Linked DNA regions of Homo sapiens: region 1 is linked to region 2. Evidence: promoter capture Hi-C in human tissues and cell types (Jung and others, 2019). All regions are on one chromosome and are shown on one strand. The core of a region is centred on a gene start or on the middle of the fragment in contact, and the rest is flanking DNA. Distances in the headings are between cores, read along the strand shown. Region 1 has its middle 13 kb from the start of DDX6. Region 2 holds the start of HYOU1 (hypoxia up-regulated 1).

Region 1 (3,014 bases), core at 321-2,820, 250 kb after region 2:
TTTCCGTCCTTGATCCACCTGACCATTTCCTACCCAACTTTCAAAATCCTCAGAATTTCATCTTGAAACCTTCTCTGAAGCATCATGCCATTGTACCCTTGCAGAATTAATTACTTTTTCCTCAGTACTTCTTCTAGCCTTAGTATATATCTTCATTATGGAATGGAACATTGTGTTATATTTGTTCATATGTCTATCTACCTTTGCTACTAATAGAATATAAATTCCTTGAAGTCAGCTATCTGTTTTCATTCATATTTTCTCCCCCATAGTCAAGTACAGTGCCTGGAACACAGTGGATGTCCAGTTAATAGTTATTAAACTGAACTGAATTTCTGTAAAGGTGAGGCATGAAAGAGGGAGGGGAAAGAGGGTGCCAAGAGAGACAGGGAGGAAGGAATTAGGATTGGAAGAAGACATCTTGTGTGCCAATCCATGAAGTTTGGATAAATTGGCTGATAAATTTGTTTTAAGAAGCCAGTTCTGGCCAGGCACGGTGGCTCACGCCTGTAATCCCAGCACTTTGGGAGGCTGAGGCGGGCGGATCACCTGAGGTCAGGAGTTCGAGACCAGCCTGGCCAACATGGTGAAACCCTGTCTCTACTAAAAATACAAAAATTAGTCGGGCATGGTGGCGGGTGCCTGTAATCCCAGCTACTCGGGAGGTTGAGGCTGGAGAATTGTTTGAACCCAGGAGGCGGAGGTTGCAGTGAGCCGAGATCGTGCCACTGCATTCTAGCCTGGGCGAGTGAAACTCCATCTAAAAAAAAAAAAAAAAAAAAAAAGAATAAGAAGCAGCAGCTGTGTGAGGAGAGGGGAGGAGTGCTCCAGATAGAGGAAACAGTAAATTCAAAGGTTGTGAAGTGGGAAAGAGTTGAGCTGATCCGAACCTCTAAGGGCCAGCATGGCTGGAGCCGAATGAGCAACTAGGGCATGGCATGAGTTGAAGAGGGAGGGATTGGTAGAATTCAGATTGTGTAGGTCCTTGTAGACCAGAGCAGGGAATGTGGAGTGTATCCTCAGCTCATTGGGAAGCAACTGAAAATGCAGAGTAATGATACTTTCATTTACATTAAAATAATCACTAAGGCTGTGCGCAGAATAGATGGGGGCTAACACGAGAATAAATAGGGAGCCCTAGTTAGGAGACTACAGCAGTAAACAGGCCAATGAAAGATATCTGTCTGGATGAAGGTGGAGGCAATGGGGCAACAAGGAGTGGACATATTCAGAAAATATTTTAGAGGTTGAATTCATAGGGCTTGGTGATAGATTAGATGTACAGAGATCTAGGATAAGGAAGTGGAAATTGAGGTAGTGTGTAGGTCTTTTGGAAAGTTTATTTTTGAAGAGGAGACTAAAGGGAAGTAGTTGATTCAAAAGCTCTTTCTAGCCAGGTGCGGCGACTCATGCCTGTAATCCCAGCACTTTGGGAGGCTGAGCAGGGTGGATCATTTGAGGTCAGGAGTTGGAGATCAACCTGGCCAATATGGTGAAACCCCGCCTCTACCAAAAAATACAAAAATTAGCTGGGCCTGTTGGTGAGGGCCTGTAGTCCCAGTTACTCAGGAGGCTGAGGCACAAGAATCGCTTCAACCTGGTAGGCAGAAGCTGCAGCGAGCCAAGATCGCACCACTACACTCCAGCTTGAGCCACAGTGAGGCCCTGTCTCAAAAATGAAACAAAACAAAAACTCAAAAGCCCCTTCAGTAAGCATTTACTGAGCACCTACTAAATGCCAGGCCATATGTGAGGTGCTGGACACACAAAGAAGAATAAGACATAGACAGACTCAGTTCTTGTGGAAGGCAAACCTACAACCAAATCAACTCTGCTACTTTGCAGTAATAGAAATTTGCACGATGGTGGCACAGATGACTGGGAAGTGATTAACTCTGCTCTTGGGTACTGGAGGGAAGAGATATCAGGGAATGAGGTTAAGACCAGATTCAGTGGAAGACGGGTCTAGAGGAGAAGGGAAATTGAGGAACATTCAGCACTATGACCTTGATTTTTCCATTAAATATGAGGCAGTCATCTGCCTTGAGTAGGTAATAGGTTAGATAGCTTGAAGGAATGAATGCTGCACATCCCTGGCTGGGTTCCCAATAGGTGACACAGCTGGATTTGAACCTTCAGCATCCAGCATGGTGTCCTGGTCCTGGTCACGGGGTATTTTACACTCATTGACAGATATCACTGAGGGCATATCCTTAAAAAGCTCTTGGACAGGAGCGGTGGCTCATGCCTGTAATCCCAGCCCTTTGGGAGGCCGAGGCGGGCAGATCACGAGGTCAGGAGTTGGAGACCAGCCTGACCAACATGGTGAAACCCCATCTATACTAAAAATACAAAAATTAGCCGGGCGTGGTGGTGCAAGCCTATAATCCCAGCTACTCAGGAGGCAGAGGCAGGGGAATCACTTGAACCCAGGAGGTGGAGGTTGCAGTGAGCCAAGATCTCACCACTTCACTCCAGCCTGGGCAACAGAGGGAGACTGTCTTAAAAAAAAAAAAAAAAAAAAAAAAAGCTCTATTTTCCCCCAAGTTACTTACTATTATTCACTCAATAGCATTTAATAAGCATTTATTGTGTACCTGGTATGGAATAAATGAATGAATAATAAGTGAATGAACAAAAGAATCAATCGAACAAGTAAAGAATTATAGTTTGTCCTTGGCATTAGAAACAAGATTTAACTTAAAATTTGAGAACTTAATGATCTTAGCTAGCTTCACCTTTCACATCCAGGTTTTGTAGTGGCTCAGACTGCCTATTATAAAAACAGCTATTGCTGATTGGGGCTTGTAATGAGCCAGTCCCTATGCTGAGCATTTTATGTAAACTATTAATATTTATCATTTAAGGCCAGGAGTGGTGGCTCACGCCCATAATCCCAGCATTTTGGGAGGCCGAGGCAGGCGGATCACTTGAGGTCGGGAGTTCAAGACCAGCCTGGCCAACATGGTGAAACCCTGTCTCTACTAAAAAATACAAAAATTAGCCAGGTGTGG
Region 2 (2,944 bases), core at 216-2,715:
CCCTCTGCCAGAAACACCCAAGAATGATCAATAAAAAAAAAAAAAAAAAAAAAAGGAAGAATAGACTCTCTCTGGGACTGCCAATAATTTTTCCTTCTAAGCATAGACACCGGACCACTCTCCACCTAAGCATCACGAAAAATGTAGAGAAAGGAAGAGCTAAGAGCTCCTTAAACAAGTTCAGGCTTGACACAACCCTGGCCCTGACAGCCAGGGTCTTCAAGCGGGCCTTTCTGTGAAGGGTGGCCAGGCATCAACTTAGTAGGAGAGAAAACAGATGACTTATTTCCATCCACACTTAAGGAAAATGCAGTCTCCAAGGACTGCGTACATTTCTTTTTCGAGAAGGAGTCTCGCTGTTGTCGCCCAGGCTGGAGTGCAGTGGCGCAGTCTGGGCTCACAGCAACCTCTGCCTCCCGGATTCAAGCAATTCTCCTGCCTCAGCCTCGTGAGTAGCTGGGATTACAGGCACCCGCCACCACGCCTGGCTAATTTTTGTAGTTTTGGTAGAGACGGGGTTTCACCATGTTGGCCAGGCTGGTCTCGAACTCCTGACCTCCAGTGATTCGCCCGCCTTGGCCTCCCAAAATGCTGGGATTACAGGCGTGAGCCACCGCGCCCGGGCGACTGCGCACATTTCTATGGAGCTGTAAGTTAAAAGAGAAGGCAGTGAGGTGCTTCTGTCATTCTATGACAGAAACAGCTAAAGAGTAGAGAAATGTTCACAAGATTTAATAGAACAGAAATAGGAGAAGGTGCACACAAGCTCAACCAACTATAGCCTCACAAATAAAAGTGTCTTTTGTGTGTAGTACTTAAGTTTGGAATATTCTTTCTTATACAAATGAGTGGGGCTTAACCTAAGAAATCCTGGCCAGATTCTGCGACGAATGCATCGGTTATCTCTGACCCATCAGCAAACATCTTTTTCTGTGGCTTCAGTTTCCTCAGTAAAACAGAGGGGGTTGCGACGGACTCAGTCCGAGGGACAGCCATTCTCCAACGTCTATCCAAAGCCTAGGGCACCTCAATACTAACCGGCAGGCCAGCGCCCCCTCCGCGGGGCTGCGGACAGGACGCCTGTTATTCCATTCCTCGGCCGGGCTCTACAGGTGACCGGAAGAAGAGCCCCGAGTGCGGGACTGCAGTGCGCCCGACCTGCTCTAGGCGCAGGTCACTCCCGAACCCCGGCAGCAAAGCATCCAGCGCCGGAAAAGGTCCCGCGGTCGCCCCGGGGCCGGCGCTGGGGAGGAAGGAGTGGAGCGCGCTGGCCCCGTGACGTGGTCCAATCCCAGGCCGACGCCGGCTGCTTCTGCCCAACCGGTGGCTGGTCCCCTCCGCCGCCCCATTACAAGGCTGGCAAAGGGAGGGGGCGGGGCCTGGGACGTGGTCCAATGAGTACGCGCGCCGGGGCGGCGGGGGCGGGGCCGGGCGCGCAGCGCAGGGCCGGGCGGCCGAGGCTCCAATGAGCGCGCGCCGCGTCCGGGGCCGGCTGGTGCGCGAGACGCCGCCGAGAGGTTGGTGGCTAATGTAACAGTTTGCAAACCGAGAGGAGTTGTGAAGGGCGCGGGTGGGGGGCGCTGCCGGCCTCGTGGGTACGTTCGTGCCGCGTCTGTCCCAGAGCTGGGGCCGCAGGAGCGGAGGCAAGAGGTAGCGGGGGTGGATGGAGGTGCGGGCCGGCCACCCCTCCTAGGGGAGACAGCGTGCGAGCTCCGGGGGCGGGTCGGGAGCGCAAGGGAGGGCCGCGCGGACGCCGGGCGCTCGGCCTCGCACCGGGGGGCACGCAGCTCGGCCCCCGGTCTGTCCCCACTTGCTGGGGCGGGCCGGGATCCGTTTCCGGGAGTGGGAGCCGCCGCCTTCGTCAGGTGGGGTTTAGGTGAACACCGGGTAACGGCTACCCGCCGGGCGGGGAACCTTACCGCCCCTGGCACTGCGTCTGTGGGCACAGCGGGGCCGGGGAGTGAGCTGGGAAAGGGGAGGGGGCGGGACAACCCGCAGGGATGCCGAGGAGGAGATAGGCCTTTCCTTCATCCTAGCTACCCCCAACGTCATTACCTTTCTCTTCCCGTCCAGGCCCAGCTGGCTTTCCCCGTCAGCGGGGGAGCTCCAGGTGTGGGGAGGTGGTTGAGCCCTGGGCGGGGATCCCTGGCCGCACCCCAGGTGTCTGACAACAGGCACAGTGCTGCGGTGCGCCACTCACTGCCTGTGTGGTGGACAAAAGGCTCGGGTCTCCTTTCTCTTGTCCTGTTAGCTTCTCTGTTTAGGGATGTGGCAAAGCCGAGGACCCATGCTCTTTCACTTGGGCCTTTGTGTGGGCGCTGCTGGGATGATTAGAGAATGGTTTGTACCCATCAGGAGGGAGAAGGGGAGAAGTAGGCTGATCTGCCCTGGGTAAGAATGAAGTAGATATGAATCTTACAGCCTCTCCGTTCTGGGATGTGATTCTGTCTCCTTCACTCCGGGTATCCAGTTTTAAGTGTTTTCTTTCTTCGCCTCCCCCAGGGGCACTATGGCAGACAAAGTTAGGAGGCAGAGGCCGAGGAGGCGAGTCTGTTGGGCCTTGGTGGCTGTGCTCTTGGCAGACCTGTTGGCACTGAGTGGTATGTACCCCAGTAGAGGGAGCAAATGGATAAATGATGACTGAAGGATGCATGATGGGAATTGAGCTTGGGGCTGTTGGCCAGAAGTCTCTTGAGTTGTTAGGTCCAGGCCTTTTTGTCTTTTGCCATCTTCGTTTACCCATGGAAAGTGGTATGCTTTGATTAGAGGGAGTCCCAGGAAGGTGGGCGAAGGGAGAGCTAACTGACAAACCTCTTTTCCCTTCAGATACACTGGCAGTGATGTCTGTGGACCTGGGCAGTGAGTCCATGAAGGTGGCCATTGTCAAACCTGGAGTGCCCATGGAAATTGTCTTGAATAAGTGAGGGTGGCCCCCGTGTTAAGG

Evidence for each region. Contacts are between HindIII fragments. The study calls those that stand out against the background at their distance.
Region 1: a fragment that was not itself captured here is called in contact with the fragment with the promoter of HYOU1 in region 2 in 1 of the 25 tissues and cell types used here (small bowel).

What each region holds. Positions count from the first base shown.
Region 1 is chr11:118,802,608-118,805,621 of GRCh38, reverse strand. No RefSeq gene overlaps it. Among named protein-coding and RNA genes, the nearest start is that of DDX6, 13 kb to the right of the region's middle. The HindIII fragment of the contact is 7,533 bases long and covers 1-3,014 here.
Region 2 is chr11:119,055,726-119,058,669 of GRCh38, reverse strand. It overlaps HYOU1 (hypoxia up-regulated 1), which reads left to right and starts at 1,465. Exons shown (of 26, transcript NM_006389.5): 1 at 1,465-1,650; 2 at 2,503-2,600; 3 at 2,827-2,920. The coding sequence starts at 2,510. RefSeq lists enhancers at 958-1,007, 1,367-1,866, 1,867-2,367 and silencers at 1,238-1,517, 1,608-1,887. The HindIII fragment of the contact is 15,957 bases long and covers 1-2,944 here.